Regions from separate parts of the Homo sapiens genome. Here all the other regions are linked to region 1. Evidence: promoter capture Hi-C in 16 types of primary human blood cells and fetal thymus (Javierre and others, 2016). All regions are on one chromosome and are shown on one strand. The core of a region is centred on a gene start or on the middle of the fragment in contact, and the rest is flanking DNA. Distances in the headings are between cores, read along the strand shown. Region 1 holds the start of RPUSD3 (RNA pseudouridine synthase D3). Region 2 overlaps FANCD2 (FA complementation group D2). Region 3 overlaps MTMR14 (myotubularin related protein 14). Region 4 overlaps FANCD2 (FA complementation group D2). Region 5 overlaps EMC3-AS1 (EMC3 antisense RNA 1).

Region 1 (4,394 bases), core at 741-3,240:
CCTGAGCCCTAGGGACTGGCTCAGCTCTGGCAGCACTGAGAACAACGTCAGCTCTCCTGGTTTTCCTGGAAAGTAAGAAAGAAAAATTACAAGAGGCCAAAGCTTCATGCCTTCACTTTTCCCTCCCTCAGTCACGAAACCCCCTTCCGCTGCATTCCCTTCCCACATCCCCGGCCCATACCTGTCACTGGTAGACCCTGTGGCTTGTTCAACGTCACTAGAGGTCCTGAAACATACATCACACGAACATCAGCAAAAGCAACGGTAACCCTTTATGCAGCACTAAAGAGTTTCCAGAGCACTTTCTCACGCATCTTAGCACATGTCCCCATCATGACTCTCAGACATGAGTTAACTACCCCACACCAAATTCAACTTCTTTCTGTTCCTCTGCCACCTCAGAGCCTCGGCACTTGCTGTTTCCTGTCCCCAAATTTCCCAGGTCTGGCTCCCTATCATCTTGGCTCAAATGTCACATCACGGAGAGGTCTGAATCTCCAATCTAATGTCTGCCTTCCTCCTGCAGTTCCTCACCATCATAACACCCTGTTTTAGTTTATGCATAGCACTTACCACTAGTAACTTGTTCATTTATTTTCTGACATCCATTTCTCCCGTTAGAGAGAAATCCATTTCTCCCCTGAGAGCAGAAACCATATCTATCTTTTTCAGCACTGTATAGCCTGCCTAGAACAGTGCCTGGAACATAGCATATGTTCAAGAAATAGTTGAGAAAAGGAATAAATCACTGAATAGAGAGTGGGGTTCAGAGAAATTCAGTTATTTTCCTAAAGCCGCACAGCAAGCTGATCACAGAGCCTAGGTATGTCTGACTCCAAAGCCTGTGTTTTGTCCGTCGATAAATAATCATTATTTATTTATTTATTTATTTAGACTGAGTCTTGCTCTGTCATCCCAGGCTGGAGCGCAGTAGCACGATGTCGGCTCACTGCAACCTCTGCTATCCGGGTTCAAGTGACTCTCCTGCCTCAGCCTCCCGAGTAGCTGGGATTACAGGCGGACGCCGCCACACCTGGCTAATTTTTGTGTTTTTAGTAGAGACGGGGTTTCACCATGTTGGCCAGGCTAGTCTCGAACTCCTGACCTCAGGTGATCCGCCCGCGTCAGCACCCTAAAGTGCCGGGATTACAGGCGTGAGCCACCGCGGCCAATAAACAATAATCTAGTATAGCAACTCCCGTAACTGAGCGCCGGCTATGTGCAAGGCTCGGTAGTTATTTGCATCTTCTCCCCACTCTTAACCCTACTGCATCATGGCAGTAGGGTTAAAAGCGGGGAGAGGGTGCAAATTAGGTGGCTTGTCCCAGCTCATGCTGCTAGTGGGAGGCAGAAGCAGGGCTGATCCCGTGGCTTCAATGGAGAGCCCAACTGCACGCCGAGGCAGTCCCCTCCCGGTCCTTGTGCGGCCGTGCCTCTCACCCCTCACCTTTCCGGTCCACCACGGCTGCCCGCAGCGCATCAACCAGCTCCTCCCGACTGAGGTTTTTTGGCAGCAGCCCCGCGAAGGGCTGGTCCCCGAGGGGCCCCGACCGTTGGCAGGAGCCGCGGGGTTGCCTCTGATGCCTGGACAAGGAGGGAGAAGCAATGGGAGTCATTCCATCCCGAGGTGCCACCCATTCCTATCTCCGGACGCCTCTTCCCAAATCCTGCGGCCTCTGACAAATGCCTCACAATGTCTGGGCTGACCTCGAAAATTCAGGTACGACCGGTCCCATTCTACAGCGGAGGGCACCGAGGCTCAGAGAGGCCAACGGGGCTGTTTTCGGGTAACATCTACCTGATCCAGATCCCGCACGTGCCTTCCCCCTGCCCTAGCCTCCGTCCCGCATGAGAGAGGGGGTACTTAATCACCGGGCTTCGGTGCCAAAGCCTGCGTCCTCGGGCACTGGGCGGACACCCAGGCCCCGCCGCCAGCCACTCCAGAACCGGCCCAAAACACGGCGGCCGTCCATCTCCCGAGCCAGGACAGCGCGCATGTGCGTCCAGAGGGGCAGACCCGCGCTCCAGCCAGCGCGCTGATTGGTCAGCTGGAGTGTCAATCGGAATGGTGACCGGGCGGGACTCAGAGCCTGAGGAGGCGGGGCTTTTCCTCCGCCCAGGAAGGAAATGCAGAAATGCCTTCCTATGCTTTTAGGGAGAGCGCTGTAGCAGAAGAATTTGATCTGATCAAAAAACCTGTCTTAGCAAAAAACCTGAAGCCGCCTTTGCAAAAATTATATTACAAAATTATGACAGCGAAAGAGATCTGATCTAACCAACCCGCAGCTTGCCTTTAACCTCTAAACGGTCCTTGGTCATTCCTGGGCTTGGGCCAAGCTAACTTTGGGAGAAATTAGTTCGTAGTCTAAATGATAATTGCCCTTCCCCCGAACTAAACTGGCTTCATAGAGTTAATGAAAGGCCACCAGGTTAGGAGTAGTAGAGGGACCTGAATTCTGCTAAGGGTTAGAGGTAACTGATTACCAGCGGTTATTCCGGAGGTCACAGTGTTTGCAGCTTCCCCAGCTCACGATTGTCCAACCTGAGATTGGCCTTTGGAGATGTCTTTCCAGGCTTTTGCATTTCTGACGGCCGGATCACCCCACCCGGACCCTCAACTCTTGGCTCTACTAGTCCTGTGGCCCCTCGAAGTCAGGAGATCGAGACCATCCTGGCTAACACGGTGAAACCACGTCTCCACCAAAAATACAAAAAAATTAGCCGGGCGTGGTGGCGGGCGCCTGTAGTCCCAGCTACTCGGGAGGCTGAGGCAGGAGAATGGCGTGAACCCGGGAGGCGGAGTTTGCAGTGAGCCGAGATCGTGCCACTGCACTCCAGCCTGGGCGACGAGCGAGACTCCGTCTCAAAAAAAAAAAAAAAAGAAAAAAGAAAAAGAAAGTAGAAGAACACAGAAAAAAAAGAATAATATAATGACTGCCCACATTCCTACCATCAGAATTAGTCATTGTGAAACAATATATATATGTATAGGTTTCCTGTTTTTCTTGTTTAAGAAATGAAAGGGATAAAAGTAAATTCCCCTTTACTGCGTGCTTCCAGTTTTCACTCCCTCCCCAGTCTCCACTTTGAGTTTGGTGTGAACATTTTCCTAATGTGTTTTGGTTTTTGTTTTTTGGAGACAGAGTCTCGCTCTGTCACCCAGGCTAGAGTGCAGTGGCCCGATCTCGACTCACTGCAACTTCCACCTCCCGGGTTCAAGCGATTCCCCTGCCTTTGCCTCCTGAGTAGCTGGAATTACAGGTGCGGTGCCCGCCACCACACCCGGCTAATTTTTTGTATTTTAGTGACGGGGTTTCACCATGTCGCCCAGGCTGGTCTCGAACTCCTGAGCTCAGGCAATCCGCCCGCCTTGGCCTCCCAAAGTGCTAGGATTACAGACGTGAGCCACTGTGCCCGGCCACTAATGTGTTTTTTTGCTTGCTCTGTCATCCAGGCTGGAGTGCAGTGGCACAATCACAGCTCACTGCAGCCTCAACCTCCCAGGCTCAAACGATCCTCCCACTTCAGTCTCCTGAATAGCTGGGACTACAGGTGTGCACCACCATACCTAGCTTTTTTTTTTTTTTTTTTTTTTTTTAAAGATATGGGGTCTCACGATGTTGCCCAGGCTGGTCTCAAACTCCTGGGCTCAAGATAAGAAAATAAAAATAACAAAATAATTTTTAAAAAATCAAACTCCTGGGTTTAAGGGATTCACCCACCTACTTCGGCCTCCCAGAGTGCTGGGATTAAAGGCCGCACGGGGCCTTTGACAGACACTTCTTTTTTTTTTTCCTTCGAGATGGAGTCTCACTCTGTCACCCGGGCTGGAGTTCAGTGGCACGATCTTGGCTCACTGCAACCTCTGCCTCCTGGGTTCAAGCAATTCTCCTGCCCCAGCCTCCCAAGTAGCTGATACTACAGGCATGCACCATCATACCTGCCTAATTTTTTGTATTTTTTAGTAGAGATGGGGTTTCACCATGTTGACCAGGCTGGTCTCAAACTCCCGACCTCAGGTGATCCACCTGCCTCAGCCTCCCAAAGTGTTGGGATTACAGGTGTGAGCCACCGTGCCCGGCCTTTGACGGACACTTTCTAATAGGCTTTTTCATCCAGCATTACACACCCCTATGAGGAAGGCAGGGTGGGTTGGGGCCCTGCCTTACAGATGAGGACACAGTGGCTGTTGTGGTTCTTTGTGTCCCTTAAAGGCATGCCAAAAGCTATGGGTGGGCTCAGAATGCCCCGGAAGGAAGTCAGATAACTGAAAAGAACACTTGCACTGGTCACAGGAAAACCAGCCTGAGCTGCCGGCAGCCTCTGGGAGGTGTTGGGATGGCCTGCCCCTGGTTTCCATGCGGGTCCTGACCCAGAGAGCAGGCCCCAGGGGA
Region 2 (4,394 bases), core at 510-3,009, 240 kb after region 1:
CCACCTCAGCCTCCCAAAGTGCTGGGATTACAGGTGTGAGCCACTACACCTGGCTTTTTTTTTTTTCTTCCCTGAGACAGGGTCTTGCTCTGTTGCCCAGGCTGGAGTGTAGTAACACAATCACAGCTCACTGCAACCTCTGACTCCCAGGCTATAAATCCTCCCACCTCAGCCTCCCAAGCAGTTGGGACTGCAGGCATGTACCACCATGCCCAGCTGATTTTTCCTTTTTTTTTTCTTTGGTAGAGACGGGGTTTCGCCATGTTGCCCCCAGGCTGGTCTTGAACCTCTGGGCTCAAGTGATCCACCCGCCTCAGCCTCCCAAAGTGCTGGCATTAGAGGCGTGAGCCACCATACCTGGCCCAAATTCAACATTTTAAGTACATGAAGTGTATTGTACATCAACTATATCTCATTGAAGCTATGGTAGACCAAAAACCTGACACCTAATAGGCCCTCAGAATACATTTGTTGAAAGGAAGAATGACTATCACTGGTGATCAGGAAGATGCTTCTAGAGGAGAAGATCTAGGACGTCAGATTGTGCTGGGCCTCAAAGGTCAGGCAGAATAATTTAAATGTTGTCCAGGGAAGCCATTTTGGAGTTTTATGATCACAGCCATAATACAATGAAAGCAGTGGTTTAAGAAAACACTTCTGGCAGCAGAGTGCAGGACAGATTGAAAAGGGATGCAAAAAAGAACACTCAAAAGGTGTCACTATGATCTACACATGTATTGATAGGGGCCTGGCCAAAATGATGGTCTAGGCTTGGAAAGGAAGGGACAATATGAAAGGTAATCCAAAGATAGAAATGTCAAGACTTGACTCATTAATGTAGGAGAAGGGGTAAGTACCACTATGGGCTGGACATTGATTTAGCAGTTTGACAAAATTATTCCTGTATTTTTGAAGAAGACTACATATCTCTAAAATATAGGGAATGAAGGAGAGCTTTTTGCCCTTCAAAGTAAACCTATGGCCCAGGCGTGGTGGCTCACCCCTGTGAAAAGAAAGAGGAAAGAAGAAAAGAAACCTATGAAGACTTCAGGAAAGATTACTTTGGATGTACTTCAGTTTCTACTCTGATACTTAGAGCTGTGATTGAATTTGGTACTTCAGTACTTTCCATTTCAATTCTTTTTTCTTTTTTCTTTCTTTTTTTTTTTTTTTTGAGATGGAGTCTCGCTCTGTCGCCAGGCTGGAGTGCAGTGGCACAATCTCGGCTCACTGCAGCCTCCACCTCCCGAGTTCTAGCGATTCTTCTGCCTCAGCCTCTGGAGTAGCTGGGACTACAGGTGCCCGCCACCACACCCAGCTAATTTTTGTATTTTTAGTAGAGACGGGATTTCACCGTGTTGGCCAAGATGGTCTCCATGTGTTGACCTCGTTATTCGCCCGCCTCAGCCTCCCGAAGTGCTGGGATTACAGGTGTGAGCCACCACGCCCGACCTCTCAATTCTTTTTTCAAACCGTTAAACTATTGATGGTACAGACTGGAGGCCAGGATCCTTAAATACTATCCAAGTAGTTTTCCAGAAACTAAGCTAACCCCTCTTACCTTGACTTCCTTAGGAGTGGATTTTCTCAACCTGAAAATCAGAATTTACTGTATTCAGCCCTCCATGTCCTTAGTAGCCGACTGAAACAGGGAGAACACAGCCAGCCTTTGGAGGAACTACTCAGGTGAGTCATAACTACATAGCCAAGATTGTTGTCCCAAGAAACTCCTAGGAACAGGATTGGCAACTTTCTTTAAAATAACCTGGGTGTCTTTCAGTAGTTGTAAAGGAAATTATTTTCAGCTACTCTCCTCATATATGAGCTTTCTCATCTATGTATTCTGATAAATCCTGAAGTATTAGAAACCTTGAATAATCATGCTAAATCTTCATGAATGCATCAGCCCATAAACTCAGCCTTTTCAAGTAATAATGATGAAAACATTGACCATCTGTAATCAACTCTTGATTATCCAGGGACCTACTGTCTCCCAGCAGATTTGGGTAATTAGGCAGCAGCTAGTTATCACTGATAGCCTGTTTCTTTCCCCTTGTCTTGTAGGAAGACCTTATGTGGCTGAGGGGTAGGCAGTGGACAAGGGAGGTGACATGATCTCAGGGGCATGGCTTTCGGCCCCCTCCCCCTTCAGTCAGAGTGACTTGGTCTTTCTCTCACTTCCCTTGGTAACCTAGACCATCACTGGGTCAGCAGTCAGTGCTTATCATCCCTGTCTATAGGTCAGGACCTTATATCTTCTTTTTTTTTTCTTTGAGAGAGAGTCTCACTTTGTCACCCAGGCTGGAGTGATCCCAGCTCACTGCACCCTCCACCTCCTGGGCTCAAGTGATTGTACTGCCTCAGCCTCCCAAGACGCTGGGATTACAGGCGCATGCTGACACACCCTACTAATTTTTATATTTTTGTAGAGATGTTTTCGACATGTGGCCAGGCTGGTCTCTAATTCCTGAGCTCAGGTGATCTGCCTGTCTCAGCCTAGCAAAGTGCTAGGATTACAGGCATAAGTCACCATGCCCGGCCTGTGAACCCAGATTTTACAAATTATTTTCAGTGTATTGCCTAAGGCTTTAAAGAGCAGATAATTTATCTAGGGTTGTACATATTAGCGTGGTGCTTGGGTTTCTCAGCATACATGACCCCTTCAAGGCCAACATTCCATCAGTGGGGCTGTCTTCTGCCCTGGCTTTTTCCATACAAAGGTATGGTTTTCTACCAAGATGCTTGAAGAGGGTTGCTACTAAAGCACCTGAAAATAAGGAGGATTCTGATTAGGCCGTCAAACACTGAAAGGGACTTGGGCACGTCATGTGGATTTAAATATATCTGTGACACATAGGATACTATTGCATTTGTTTGTTTTTCTTGTCTCCTTACAGCCAGAGCGTCCATTACTTGCAGAATTTCCATCAAAGCATTCCCAGTTTCCAGTGTGCTCTTTATCTCATCAGACTTTTGATGGTTATTTTGGAGAAATCAACAGCTTCTGCTCAGAACAAAGAAAAAATTGGTGATGGGCCTAGATCCTTTTTTTTTTTTTTTTTTTAATGAATAGGACTAATATCTCACACTTACAAACTTTGGGCTTCCCAGGACATTTTTACATGTAAATCCCCACATAACCTTGGATAGGCCCTCTTGCTATACCAAGAAGGTCATTTTCCCAGAACAACCTGACTGATTTCTGCTAAAATTGCTTAGTCTGAGTTTGGTTAGACAAGCTGAGTAGATAGTTTTCTCTTTGGCTTAAGTTTAATCATGTTCTTCCTTTTCAAAAAAAAAAAATTTATCTGAGACATTTGACAAAACGAGACATAAATCATGAGGTTAATAAAGTAGGAAATAAAGGAGAAATCAGGGTCAAGTATAAAAGAAATACTGGCCTCTTCCCTGGCCTTTTTCTTTTTTTTTGAGACAGAGTCTCGTTCTGTCACCCAGGCTGGAGTGCAGTGGTGCGATGTTGGCTCACTGCAATCCTCTACCTCCCAGGTTCAAACGATTCTCCTGCCTCAGCCTTTCAAGTAGCTGGGATTACAGGTGCGCACCACCGTGCCCAGCCAATTTTTGTATTTTTAGTGGAGACGGGGTTTCACCATGTTGGTCAGGCTGGTCTCGAACTCCTGACCTCGTGATCCACCTGCCTCAGCCTCCCAAAGTGCTGGGATTACAGACGTGAGCCACTGTGCCCAGCCCTGGCCTCTTTCTTAAACTGTCTTTTATTGTAGCTCTTAGAATGCAGCTCATCCTAGTTGGCAGCACATCAGAAAGCAAGATAAAAATGCAAAACAAACCTTTATTTATCCCTATTGATTAAAAGGGGAAGGTTTGGTCTCAATCTTGGAGGTGACCACTGCTATTGGCCAGCCCAGGAGGAACAAGATTGGCCTTCCCACTGCCCAGCAGCATTCCTTTTCTCTGTGTGTCTGTATTTATGTTCATGTTTGCATGTTTGTGTGTTTCAAGATGGGGTTGGGGTGGGACGTGTTGAGCCTTAGGCAAATGAGTTTATGTCTGGCAAAAGGGCCAGTGGATCAGGAACGTGACAGCTTTTTGTAAGTTGCCTGTTAGACCGGGAACGTCTTAGTAAATCTAAACTAATAATCCTTTTGATCAATAATCATCCTCAAAAACCTGAAAAGCAAGAATGAGGTCAAGTTCCCATATGTAAGATTCCTTTGTCTTCTTTTCTAACAGCTTCCCTTGCCAGACAATTCCTCTGTCGGGTGTGGCCAAGTGGGGATAAAGAGAAGAGCAACATCTCTAATGACCAGCTCCATGCTCTGCTCTGGTGAGATGTTTGGTTTCTTCCAATGAGCCAAATAGCTTTTTTCTATTTTGCTACTGTTGTTTGTCAGAGACTGGACAAATGACCTTTT
Region 3 (4,394 bases), core at 1,021-3,520, 180 kb before region 1:
CCTAGAGGAAAATGCTGATGTGTCCTCCACCAGGGGTGTTTTGTTTGTTTGTTTTTAACAGAAGTTTAGCCTGAGAAATCCACCTTGGTTTTGAGGCTACAACTCAACCTGGGAAAATCAGATGTAGGCATTTAGGGTTCAGAGGGCTGGTATGAGCTAAGTGAGAGTCGGTTGCAGCAGATGGTGCTGACCAGATATGTGACATCGGCCACGGGCCAAGTAAGTGGGAGGAAGGCCACTGTGGCAGTACTAAAGGTGCTCGGTTTTATATTCTTGTGGAGTCTAGTTAGGCAATTAATTGGTACCAAGGTGCCTTTTGATTTCATAGAGAAACTGGGTGAGGGGAAGGCAGCACACTCTGGTTCTCTGTGAGCTTGTGTGCCTAGGGCTGCCTGGTGGGTTGCTGCCACCCTACGGGCACTTTGCTTTTTTTTTTTTCCCCCAGACGGAGTCTCGCCCTTCGCCCAGGCTGGAGTGCAATGGCGTGATGTTGGCTCACTGCAAACTCTGCCTCCCGGGTTCAAGCAGTTCTCCTGCCTCAGCCTCCTGAGTAGCTGGGATTACAGGCACGCGCCACCACGCCAGGCTAATTTTTTTGTATTTTTAGTAGAGATGGGGTTTCACCATGTTGGCCAGGCTGGTTTTGAACTCCCAACCTCAAGTGATCTGCCCACCTTGGCCTCCCAAAGTGCTAGGATTACAGGTGTGAGCCACCACGCCTGGCCCCTAGATATATTTTAACTAAGAATTCGCAGTATTTTAAAGACTGTGTTTTTATTAACCCTAACAGCATCCAGATACATTTAAAGAGGTACCACAAGTATGTGGGAGTCACTGATTTCTTCCTTCTGGGATAATATTTGGGTGCATGTGTACAAGAGGAGCTGTACGCAGATTCCTAGAAGGATTAGGATGTGGAAGCAATTAAATTCCCTCTAGGAGTTGGTCTGAAAGCTCAACACTTTTAAGGAAGGAACATGAGTATTTTTCCTTCCTTCTACTTGGTTACTCTGTGTAGCTGGGAAAGCTTCCTGCTCTAACTTTCCTGCCTCCTGTTTCTGTTGCTACCAGAAGCTCTGACTGGCTGGGGTGAGCTTTGCTAAAGGTTGGTAGGTGAGTTTATGAGAGCGGACCCTTATTTTAGGGAAGCGTGATTTGATATGGGTATGACTTGCTGGAGCTAACTTCTAAACCTCACTCTCAAGTTCTAGAAGCTCACTTACCAAGCCCAGTGCATTAACTACTACACGTCCCTGTGTCACACATGGCTTCTCTTATGCCTCCTTTGCTCTGTGCGCTGTTGGCCATATGGACTGTGAAAGCAGAGGCCTAGAGCCATGTGGACCAAGAAACGTCATCTCATTCTGCCCTCTAAAACAGCACTCCCCAACCTTTTTGGCACCAGGGACTGGTTTCATGGAAAACAATTTTTCCACGGCAGGGTGGAGAAAATGGTTTCAGATGAAACTGTTCCACCTCAGATCATGAGGCATTAGATTCTCTGCAACCCCAGTCCCTCACATGCGGAGTTCACAATAGGGTTCGAGCTCCTATGAGAATATAATGCCGCCACTGATGATCTGACAGGAGGTGGAAGTCAGACGGTAATGCTCACTTGCCTGCTGCTCACCTCCTGGTTCCTAATGGGGCATGGACTCGTACTGATCTGGGGCTCAGGGCCTGGGGACTGCTTGCTCTAAAAGATCACAAAAATACATATTCAGAGTTATGCAAAAAATAGATAGTCACAAAAATGGTCCTGTGATTTCCAGAGAGGGTCCCTAGGGCACCAGGTCTTATCCTGGGAGTTAAAAATTGGACACCCTAGACATAATATCCAGTTTTCTGTGTATATTTCTGAATTTTGTATATGTCTTCAGTTTAGCTCACTTTTTTTTTATCTTAAAGGTTCAGAAATCAGAGTGATTTAAGTTTTAATACCTATAATTAGCACTTTTTTTTTTTCCTGAAAAACTTAATATATCTCATGCCTGTGATCCCGGCACTTTGGGAGGCCGAGGTGGGCGGATCGCCTGAGGTCAGGAGTTTGAGGCCAGCCTGGCCAACGTGGTGAAACCCCGTCTCTACCAAAAATAAAAAAATTACCCAGGTGTGGTGGCTCACACCTGTAGTCACAGCATACTCGGGAGGCTGAGACAGGAGAATTGCTTGAACCCGGGAGGCAGAGGCTGTGGTGAGCCAAGATTGCGCCACTGCACTCTAGCCTGGGCAACAACAGTGAAACTCCGTCTCAAAAAAATAGATAGATAGACAGACAGATGATAGATGATATAAAATTTAGGAATGACATTTAATTTCAAGCAAGCATTATGTACACAGATCTAGTATGGGGGTCTGTGTGAATAAACACATATACACAAAGTGCCCACTTCAAAGTCAGCTTGACCTGCTTCTCTTGCCTGTGTGTTAGGTTTGAGAGTACCGTACAGGTGAGCAAGTTGCAAGACCTCATCCACCGCAGCAAGATGGCCCGGTGCAGAGGACGGTTTGTCTGCCCAGTAATCCTGTTCAAGGGCAAGGTAAGGCCCATACCATAGCTTCATGCTCCACGACTCTCTTCTGGGGTAGCTGACTTACTGCAAAGTATAGGGTCTTTTTTTCCCTCAACATTAGTAGCCAAGCATTGGGTGGTTACTGGGTGTTGTGGGAAGCAGTCCAGAGAAACAGACCAATTCTGACTGAAGGATGGTTCTAGGTAGAGAAGGGATGGTCACACCAGCATACCCCACCCCGTGTTCCAGAGCCAGACTGCCTAGGTTCAGATCCTGACTCTTATTTCCTGCCTATGCAGAGCCTCCTTTTCCTCTCCTATAAATTAAGAATAATAATCACCTATTTCAAAGGTTTGTGGATTAGATTAAATCAAATGAGTTCCTATATTGTTTTTCCATTCTTTCAATTATATAATTCACCAAGTATTTATTGTATATTATGTGCCAGACACTGCTTCAGGCCTTAAAATACATCACCATGTAAAGCAGACAAAAATCTTTATTGTCATGGAGCTTATATTCTAAGGACTTTTGTTAATTTAATTTGGCTCCCCAGTTTGGTTTCATTTTTATCTATCTTTTGGTGTACGGGATGTGCCCATTTCATTGCAGATGAAACAGAGGCTGAGAGTGACTAAGTAACTTCCCTAAGTAGAGGGTACACATCAGGGCAGAGGATGGAGGGGATTGAATGAAGACGGCTGAACGCTGAGCAGGGAGGTGGCTCTGTGTTTGCTAGGAGAGCCATTGTGACGTTTGAGCGGGGAAATTCCGAATGCAAGTAGCAACGGTGCGAAAATTGGTCCAAGAAGAGTGGACTGACATACAGAGAGCCTCAGAGGGGAAGGGAGCGGAATTCAGTCTATTCATTCCTTTAGCTGGTATCTGAGTGTCTCAGTGGTCAAGGGCAGGGCAATGGGGAGAGTCTGACTGTTGTCTCAGTCCCTGGTGTGCCTTTTTTGTAAATTGGGAAAGAGGAGGAAGGAAGGGAGACTCTGCCAAAAGCTTTCTTCTTCAGATCAGTTTTAGGGAAAAGTATGTATGGAAGTTAGGTCCTAGAAATTGATCTTCTTAAAGCTGTTGCCACTTTGGAAAGTTTTCATGTTCCCGAAAGTTATTGCAACTTTTTTTTTTTTGAGATGGAGTCTCTCTCTTTTTTTTTTTTTTTTTTTTTTTTTTGAGGCAGCAGACATCTTGCTCTGCTGCCCAGGCTGGAGTGCAGTGGTGCGATCTCAGCTCACTGCAAGCTCCGCCTCCCGGGTTCACGCCATTCTCCTGCCTTAGCCTCCCGAGTAGCTGGGACTACAGGCACCCGCCACCACGCCCGGCTAATTTTTTGCATTTTCAGTAGAGACGGGGCTTCACCGTGTTAGCCAGGATTGTCTCGATCTCCTGACCTTGTGATCCTCCTGCCTCGGCCTCCCAAAGTGTTGGGATTACAGGCGTGAGCCACCGCGCACGGCCTGGAGTCTCTTCTGTTGCCAGGCTGGAGTGCAGTGGCCCAAGCTTGGCTCACTGCAACCTCCACCTCCCGGGTTCAAGCAATTCTCCTGCCTCAGCCTCCCGAGTAGCTGGGATTACAGGAGCATGTCACCACACCCAGCTAATTTTTGTATTTTTAGTAGAGACGGGGTTTCGCCATGGTGGCCAGGCTGCTCTCAAACTGCTGACCTCAGGTAATCCGCCCGCCTCAGCCTCCCAAAGTGCTGGGACTACAGGCGTGAGCCACCACGCCTGGCCTGCAACTTCATTTGAAAGAGTACCACCCTGTGCAGCACAGCGCTTGTCATTAGAGGTTGCACGGGAGATACTCCAACCAGTGTTTCCATAGAATAGCAGTTTAAGGACATGCTTGCGAAAAGCATTATCTGTCAAATAAGA
Region 4 (4,394 bases), core at 1,501-4,000, 190 kb after region 1:
TTGTTGTTGTTTGAGACGGAGTCTCACTCTGTCACCCAGGCTGGAGTGCAGTGGCACAATCTCGGCTCACTGCAACCTCCACCTCCCAGGTTCAAGCGATTTTCCAGCCTCAGTCTCCCGAGTAGCTGGGATTACAGGCGCCAGCCACCATGCCCGGCTGATTTTTTTGTATCTTTAGTAGAGACGGGGTTTCACCATGCTGGCCAGGGGCTGTCTGGAACTCCTGACCTCAAGTGATCCATCCATCTCGGCCTCCCAAAGTGCAAGGATTACAGGCTTGAGCCACCACGCCTGGCCCATTATATCATTTTTTTTTTTTTTTTTGAGATGGAGTTTGGCTCTTGTTGCCCAGTCTGGAGTGCAGTGGCACAATCTTGGCTCACTGCAACCTCCGCCTCCCGGGTTCAAGCGATTCTCCTGGCTCAGCCGCCCAAGTAGCTGGGATTACATGTACATGCCATCATGCCTGGCTAATTTTTGTATTTTTAGTAGAGAAGGGGTTTCACCGTGTTAGTCAGGCTGGTCTCAAACTCCTGACCTCCGGTAATCCACCCACCTCAGCCTCCCAAAGTGCTGGGATATCGGACGTGAGCCACCATGCCTGGCCTCATTATGTCATTCTTAATGCCTTTGCATTCTCATAGCTTAGCTTCTACTGACTTGTGGATTGAAGAGTTATTTCTTACTAGGTTATTGGAAGTTAAGTCTGATTCTTGGTCAATTCAACCGAAATAGATGAAAATGCTTGCTGAACAGTGATTATAATGATAAAAATTGTGAGTCCAAAACCATGTAAGGAATAGGCTTGATTTAGAAACGGAAACTGTGGGCCGGGCACAGTGGCTCACACCTGTAATCCCAGCACTTTGGGAGGCCAAGGCGGGCAGATCACCTGAGGTCAGGAGTTCAAGATCAGCCTGGCCAACATAGTGAAACCCCATCTCTACTAAAAATACAAAAATTAGCTGGGCGTGGTGTCACGTGTCTGTAATCTCAGCTACTCGGGAGGCTGAGGCAGGGGAATTGCTTGAACCCCGGAGGTGGAGGTTGCAGTGAGCTGAGATCACGCCACTGCCCTTCAGCCGGGGCAACAGAGCAAGACTCTTATCTCAAAAAAAAAAGGAAGTTGTGAAGCTCCAATGGTTGATTAGTAATGGGGTTCTAGAATTAGAATATAGAGAAATTGGTAGAAAATTTGAAACTGAAGAGGAATAATATAGGAAATTACTGAAAGTAAATGTTATACTTTGGAAATACTGTTCTCCAAAAGAGAAGAGACTTCTGAATTAAGTTTATTAGAAGGGATTTGGGTTCTCTTGGTCAGTAATGAACAAACTGAAACTTTCATTCTGGTTGTGTTTTACATTTCATTCAGGAAGGTAGTGGTCTTTGTCTCATTCTGATTAAGGCTTTATTAGAAAGAGGGAAAGGAGGCCAGGCACGGTGGCTCACGCCTGTAATCCCAGCACTTTGGGTGGCCAAGGCGGGCAGATCACGAGGTCAGGAGATTGAGACCATCTTGGCTAACATGGTGAAACCCCGTCTCTACTAAAAATACAAAAAATTAGCCGGGCGTGGTGGTGTGCACCTGTAGTCCCAGCTACTGGGAGGCTGAGGCAGGAGAATGGCATGAACCCGGGAGGCGGAGCTTGCAGTGAGCCAAGATCGCGCCACTGCACTCCAGCCTGGGCGACAGAGCAAGACTCCATTTCAAAAAAAAAAAAAAAAGAAAGAGGGAGAGGAATTGAAGAAGGAAAAAACAAAATGGCATCATTAAGGGAGAAGAGTAAATTTTAAACTTGGCTTCAAGTACCTGTTTGTTTCTTGTTTCTTATTTCTTTTTATGGGTTGAAAGTCTTGGGATTAAACCTATCTGAGCATTGTAGTCAAAGATATGATACAAAGAACCTTCCCCATTCTGTCTACCCTTTATTCAGATCATTGAGTCTCAAATTTGGTGTGTATCAGGATTATTATCTGAAGAACATAAAAAATTCGGATTCCTAGGTCCCATTCCCAAGATTTTGACTCAGTAACTCTGGTATATGGCATGGAATATGCCTTTTTTTTCCTTTGAGACAGAGTGTCACTCTGTTGCTCAGGCAGGAGTGAAGTGGCGCGATCTGGGCTCACTGCAACCTCTGCCTCCCGGGTTCAAGTGATTCTCCTCCTCAGCCTCCCGAGTAGTTGGTATTACAGGCGCACGCCACCACACCCAGTTAATTTTGTATTTTTAGTAGAGATGGGGTTTCACCACGTTAGCCAGGCTGGTCTTGAACTCCTGACCTCAGGTAATCAGCCTGCCTCGGCCTCCCAAAGTGCTGGGATTACAGGCGTGAGCCACTGTGCTGGGTCGGAAATATGCATTTTAATAAGCTTCCCAGGGATTCCAGTACAGTGGTTTGCAGGCAACAGCTTGAGAGACACTGGCTAGTTTAGTATTTGGGTGGAAAACATTTCTGTGGGTTATTCTTGTTAGGCACTTATTTGTTTGAATTTATTTTTTTAGAGATGGGGATTTCACTCTGTCACCCAGGCTGGAGTGCAGTGGTAATATCATAGCTCACTATAGCCTCAACCTCCTGGGCTCAAGTTATTCTTCCGCCTTAGCCTCCGAAGTAGCTGGGACTACAGGTGTGCGTCTCCTCACCTAACTAGTTTGTGTGTGGAGGGGGGGAATGGGGGTGAAGGGGGGGAGATGGGGGGGTGGTCTCACTTTGTTGCCCAGGCTGGTCTTGAACTCCTGGCTTCAAGTGATCCTCCTGCCTTGGCCTCCTAATTTGCTGGGATTACCACATGAGCCACCTTGCCTGGCCAGAAATGGCACATTTTGAATTCTTCAAATGAAAATAGGTGAAAATAATTCTATTTGTTTGTTTTGGAAGCCACTATTGCTGAAGACAGTTTATTTCACTACAGCATCAATCCTAGTATAATTTTTAAGGACACATCAGTTTTCCTCTCATGATTATTATTCCTGGGTTTAAGTTTTAATTTTTCCTTTACTATTTGCCATATTCTTGAAAATTTTTCTATTTTCAGAAACCAGGAAGCAACCACTTTCCAAAAAGACAAAGAAATCTCATATTGCTAATGAAGTTGAAGAAAATGACAGCATCTTTGTAAAGCTTCTTAAGATATCAGGAATTATTCTTAAAACGGGAGAGAGTCAGAATCAACTAGGTAATATTTTAATCTAATTTTATTCTCTGGGTTTAATGAAATAGTTCAGGACTGAATCATGGGTTTTCTAAATAGAGAGGCAATGAAGATTAGAAATCAGAGGGCCATCCATCTTGAGACAAAGTTGAAATTGCTTTTTAGAAAATGGTACAGTCAGGCCGGGCGCGGTGGCTCACGTTTATCATCCCAGCACTTTGGGAGGCTCGAGGCAGGCGGATTGCCTGAGCTCAGGAATTTGCGACCGGCCTGGGCAACACGTCTCTACTAAAATATAAAAAATTAGCCGGGCATGGTGGCATGTGCCTGTAGTCCCAGCTGCTTGGGCGCCTGAGTCAGGAGAATTGCTTGAACCCGGGAGGTGAAAGTTGCAGTGAGTCAAGATCGCACCACTGCACTCCAGCCTGGGCGACAAGAGTGAGACTCCATTTCCAAAAAACAAAAATGGAAAAAGAAAATGGTACAGTCTTTGGTCCTCATTACTATGTCTTAAGTAAAGCATTTCTCATCCTTTTATTAGAAAAAATATTATATATTATTTATTTTGTGTTTTCTTATGAAAAAATAAATATCCAGAAAGCAGCTGTATCAGTGTCAGAATAATTTCAGAAGAAAATTTATAAAGCCATATAAGATTCTGTTTTGGGGGAGCAGATTATTCTATCTTGCTAAGGTTATGGCAGGTCTTTTTTAGAACACTTAGTGGCTATCTGCTATCAAAGCTAAGTCTTTTTTTTTTTTTTTTTTTTGAGACGGAGTCTTGCTCTGTCGCCCAGGCTGGAGTGCAGTGGCGCGATCTCTGCTCACTGCAAGCTCCACCTCCCAGGTTCACACCATTCTGCCTCAGCTTCCCAAGTAGCTGGGACTACAGGCGCCCGCCACCATGCCTGACTAATTTTTTGTATTTTTAGTAGAGACGGAGTTTCACCGTGTTAGCCAGGATGGTCTTGATCTCCTGACCTTGTGATCCACCTGCCTCGGCCTCCCAAAGTGCTGGGATTACAGGCATGAGCCACCGCGCCCAGCCAAAGCTAAGTCTTTTATGTGGGTTTAGACACAACCCCATGACTCTGGGCTGGGCACAGTGGCTTATGCCTGTAATCCCAGCACTTGGGAGGCTGAGGAGGGTGGATCACGAGGTCAGGAAATCGAGACCATCCTGGCTAACACAGTGAAACCCTGTCTCTACTAAAAATACAAAAAACGAAACAAAA
Region 5 (4,394 bases), core at 768-3,267, 150 kb after region 1:
GAGGCTGAGGCAGGCGGATCATCTGAGGTCAGGAGTTTGAGACCAGCCTGGCCAATGTAGCGAAACCCCGTCTCTACTAAAAATACAAAAAAAAAATTAGCCTGGCCTGGTGGCACACGCCACTGCACTCCAGCCTGGGCGACAGTGCAAGACTCCATCTCAAAAGATAAAAAGCCAGATGATTGAGTTCCTTAGGTGCTGATTGGTTGCCTTTAAAGATTTTTCTTTGGTTGGAATCTGTTTTGTGGGATTTTTGTTAGTTTTGTTATCCAATTTTGGGATGACTATCTTAAAAGCTTTCATGATGATGAATAAAGCAATGAAAAAAATGAATAACTTTTTGTGGTGAGAAATATCAAAGTACTCCAAACACACTGTTTTTGGTTTTAGATAAACACAAATTTAACACCTTGACTGCCTGCATACCTATTTTTACGTATTTGTAATCATTTTATAAATATAAATATAATTTGTATTCTTTTTTCTCAACATTTTCTTCTCCATGTGCTTCTGCTTTGTCTTCATTGTTATCTTTAATGACTGTATTCTGGTCTAATGACTCTAAATTTTGGTGTCCTAAGAAGTGGAGCATTCAGTTAAGAGAAGTAGTAAAATTTGTTTTTTCTTTTTTGTCCTGCTTGCCTTTTTAACTTTTTTTTTTTTTTTTTCCTGGAAGCATAGACTCAGATTGCCCTGAATACACTCCCAGTGTTTTCTCTTTTTTTTTTGAGACAGAGTCTTGCTCTGTCACCCAGGCTGGAGTGCAGGCAGTGGCGCAATCTCAGCTCACTGCAAGCTCCACCTCCTGGGTTCATGCCATTCTTCTACCTCAGCCTCCCGAGTAGCTGGGACTACAGGCGCCTGCCACCACGCCCGGCTAATTTTTTGTATTTTTAGTAGAGATGGGGTTTCACGTTGTTAGCCAGGATGGTCTGGATCTCCTGACCTTATGATCCACCTCAGCCTCCCAAAGTCCTGGGATTACAGGTGTGAGCCACCGTGCCGGGCCTTTCTCTTTTTTTTTTTTTTTTTTTTTTTTTAAGAGACTAAGTCTTGCTCTGTCACCGAAGGTGGAGTGCGGTGACAGCATCATAGTTCATTGCAGTCTCAAACACCCGGGTTCAAGCGATCCCCCCACCTCAGTCTTTGGAGTAGCTGGGACTACAGGCAAGCACCACCAGGCCTGGCTAATTCTGTTAGTTAGTTAGTTAGTTATTTTGAGAGAGTTTCGCTCTTTTGCCTAGGCTATAGTGAAGTGCCACAATCTCGGTTCACTGCAACCTCTGGCCCCTGGGTTGAAGCAAATCTCCTGCCTCAGCCTCCCTAGTAGCTGGGATTATAGGTGCCTGCCACCATGCCTGGCTAATTTTTGTATTTTTAGCAGAGATGGGATTTCACCATATTGGCCAGGCTAGTCTCAAACTCCTGACTCAGGTGATCCACCCACCTGCCTCAGCCTCCCAAAGTGCTAGGATTACAGGTGTGAGCCACCACGCCTGGCCAATTCTTTTATTTATTTATTTATTTATTTATTTTTTGAGACGGAGTCTCGCTGTCGCCCAGGCTGTAGTGCAGTGGCACGATCTCGGCTCACTGCAAGCTCCGCCTCCCGGGTTCACGCCATTCTCCTGCCTCGGCCTCCTGAGTAGTTGGGACTATAGGCGCCCACCACCTCGCCTGGCTAATTTTTTGTATTTTTAGTAGAGACGGGGTTTCACCATGTTAGCCAGGATGGTCTCGATCTCCTGACCTCGTGATCTGCCCGCCTTGGCCTCCCAAAGTGCTGGGATTACAGGTGTGAGCCACCGCGCCCGGCCATTCTTTTATTTTTTATAGAGATGAGGTCTTGCTGTGTTTCCCAGGCTGGTCTCAAATTTTTAGCTTCAAGTGATCCTCCTGCTTGGGCCTCCCAAAGTGCTGGGATTATAGGCATGAGCCACTGCACCCAGCCCTCATATTTTTCTTTTTTAAACTTAGGTAAACAAGCTAATTGTGGAGAAAAATCCACAAGGAATCTACAGATGTAAAAAATACAGTTTTTCTCTGCTCTCTTTCCCATTCCTCAGGGGTAATCATCCTTCCAAATTTTTTCTCTTCATATACAAGCTGTAATTGTGTGCAAGTACAGGTATACTCTTATGCCTACACATATATATGTTTATATATTGTTTTTACAAAAGCAGAATCTTAACTATGATTATGGGTGGTGGTGGTGGTGTTTAAAGAGACAGGGTCTCACTCTGTCGCCAGGCTGGAGTGCAGTGGCACAATCGTAGCTCACTGTTGCCTCCACCTCCTGGGCTCAATGATCCTCCCTCCTCAGCCTCCCAAAGCAGTGGGATTATAGGCATGAGCCTTCATGCCCAGCCTGATTATCCTTTTGCAGGCTGCTGTTTTTTCCACTTCATATCAGGAATGTCTTTCCTCTGTCAAAAAATAGAGTATGGCTCAGCAGTCCCTAACCTTTTTGGCACCAGGGACTGGTTTCATGGAAGACAGTTTTTCCACAGACCGTTTCGGGGCATGATTTCAGGATGAAACTGTTCAACTTTAGATCATCAGGCACTACTTAGATTCTCATAAGGAATGTGCAGCCTAGATCCTGCGCATGTGCAGTTCACAATGGGGTTTGCGCTCCCGTGAGAATCTAATGCAGCCGCTAATCTGACAGGAGGCGGATCTCAGTGGTAATGACCACTTGACCACCCCTCACCTCCTGCTGTGCAGCTTGGTTCCTAGCAGACCACAGACTCCGTGATCCAGGAGTTGGGGACCCCTGATCTACCTTTTTCTTTTTTTTTTAAATTTTGTAATTAAAAAGTCTTTTTTAGACAGAGTCTCGCTGTGTCACCCAGGCTGGAGTGCAGTGGCACAATCTCGGCTCATTGCAACCTGCACCTCCCGGGTTCGAGTCGTTGACCTGCCTCAGCCTCCTGAGTAGCTGGGATTGCAGGCAGTTGCCACCACGACTGGCCAATTTTTTTTTGTATTTTTTAGTAGAAATGGGGTTTCACCGTGTTGGCCAGGCTGGTCTCGAACTCCTAACCTCAGGTGATATGTGTACCTCAGCCTCCCAAAGTACTGGGATTACAGGTGTGAGCCCCCACGCCCAGCCTGGCTTATCCTTTTTGATGACTATAATATTTCAAAAATTAAAATTACTCCATCATAATTTACTGAACCCTTTCCAGATTGATGGGCATTTATAGTCTTTCCAACTTTTCACAAAGTAATTTTTCTAGTAATAGTGAAAATACATACTGGAGTTGGCAAGTGATTGAATCTTTTAATAAATGTGAAGATGTTCAAAGTTACTTCTGTAGTAGTATCACTTTAATGTATATTGGAATGTATTCCTAAGAGATACCAGTGGTTAATAGTTGTGGCACTTTATTTCTTTAAAAAATATTTCTGGGTTTTGTGAAAAGTGTAGATACTACCAGGGGAGTGTGTGGAACAAATGAGCATCATCCATTGTGTGTTTTAATTAGAGGAAAAGCTGCTGTTTCATTGTAGCAAATGTACTGATTGGTTAACTGTTTTTCTATTATTGCATATTTATTGACCTGGTGATGCTTTTCATCATCTATAGCACCAATACTCAGACAAAGAAGTACATTGAAAGGGTGCTAAGAAATAAGATTCGATCAGGCTGCATTCAAGAACAGCTGCTCCAGAGTACATTCTCTGTTCATTACTTAGTAAGTGTCAGAGACTATTGATTTTTAATCTAAAACAGAAAGCTTTACAGCTCTCATGTAAAATTTCATCTTATTTCAGTCCATTGTTCAAACCCATTGAAATTTTTGAATTTTATTTTTGCATTAACATTTTAATTGTCTATCTCAATGCAGTTTGCAATTATGACAAACTAGCCTTTCGTATCCTATTCTAAGTAGCTTATAAAAACCTTGAGGGGAATAGGACCAGGCTGTAGAAACTAGTAGAAACGTAAATATGGACCTATTTGAACTATCACTCTTTGGCCATTCAAAACTGGATTTTAGGTGATAATTCCTCTGGAAATGTAAATTATTCAAACTGGAATTTATAAACTGGGAATAATGTTTTGCTGGCTGAACGTTCAGTATATTAACAGTATAGAACTTAGAAAACTGGATGGGCCAGTAGTTTGGGGTTTGGGTTAGGAGCTAATGAGAATACCTCATTGGATCTTACATTTTATATTTAGGAATAGATTTAATGTTTGTCTTATTTCATCTAGCAGTTCTTTTCTGTGTTTATTTCTGCCAGTTATATGTGTTTTGGGCTGTAATTTTCTAGACACGGAAACCATATGTAATTTTTCATTGCATTTTCCCCAATAAAGCATTATACCCAGCTTACTACTAAATGTAAGATTTTTTAAAATTATGGTATCAATAAGGAAGCTA

The links. Contacts are between HindIII fragments. The CHiCAGO score rates a contact against its expected background, and 5 or more counts as called.
Region 2: a contact is called between a fragment that was not itself captured here and the fragment with the promoter of RPUSD3 in region 1, in 1 of 17 cell types (activated CD4 T cells). The highest score is 5.0, in activated CD4 T cells.
Region 3: a fragment that was not itself captured here is called in contact with the fragment with the promoter of RPUSD3 in region 1 in 1 of 17 cell types (neutrophils); the score reaches 5.6 in neutrophils.
Region 4: a fragment that was not itself captured here is called in contact with the fragment with the promoter of RPUSD3 in region 1 in 8 of 17 cell types (activated CD4 T cells, megakaryocytes, erythroblasts and 5 more); the score reaches 10.3 in activated CD4 T cells.
Region 5: a contact is called between a fragment that was not itself captured here and the fragment with the promoter of RPUSD3 in region 1, in 2 of 17 cell types (activated CD4 T cells and total CD8 T cells). The highest score is 5.7, in activated CD4 T cells.

The regions. Positions count from the first base shown.
Region 1 is chr3:9,842,018-9,846,411 of GRCh38, forward strand. RPUSD3 (RNA pseudouridine synthase D3) reads right to left here and starts at 1,991. Exons shown (of 9, transcript NM_173659.5): 1 at 1,873-1,991; 2 at 1,448-1,584; 3 at 182-226; 4 at 1-65. The coding sequence starts at 1,973. RefSeq lists an enhancer at 1,854-1,933. The HindIII fragment of the contact is 7,859 bases long and covers 101-4,394 here.
Region 2 is chr3:10,084,237-10,088,630 of GRCh38, forward strand. FANCD2 (FA complementation group D2) reads left to right here. Exons shown (of 44, transcript NM_001018115.3): 33 at 1,576-1,686; 34 at 2,898-3,028; 35 at 4,213-4,306. It also overlaps a transcript of FANCD2OS not described here. Among named protein-coding and RNA genes, the nearest start is that of FANCD2OS, 22 kb to the right of the region's middle. The HindIII fragment of the contact is 7,979 bases long and covers 1-4,394 here.
Region 3 is chr3:9,659,836-9,664,229 of GRCh38, forward strand. MTMR14 (myotubularin related protein 14) reads left to right here. Exons shown (of 19, transcript NM_001077525.3): 3 at 2,432-2,540. Among named protein-coding and RNA genes, the nearest start is that of MTMR14, 13 kb to the left of the region's middle. The HindIII fragment of the contact is 2,491 bases long and covers 1,026-3,516 here.
Region 4 is chr3:10,029,790-10,034,183 of GRCh38, forward strand. It overlaps FANCD2 (FA complementation group D2), which reads left to right. Exons shown (of 44, transcript NM_001018115.3): 3 at 3,043-3,183. Among named protein-coding and RNA genes, the nearest start is that of FANCD2, 5.6 kb to the left of the region's middle. The HindIII fragment of the contact is 752 bases long and covers 2,375-3,126 here.
Region 5 is chr3:9,989,311-9,993,704 of GRCh38, forward strand. The region is part of intron 2 of EMC3-AS1 (EMC3 antisense RNA 1); the gene reads left to right. It also overlaps a transcript of EMC3 not described here and the pseudogene FANCD2P1. Among named protein-coding and RNA genes, the nearest start is that of EMC3-AS1, 4.6 kb to the left of the region's middle. The HindIII fragment of the contact is 3,447 bases long and covers 295-3,741 here.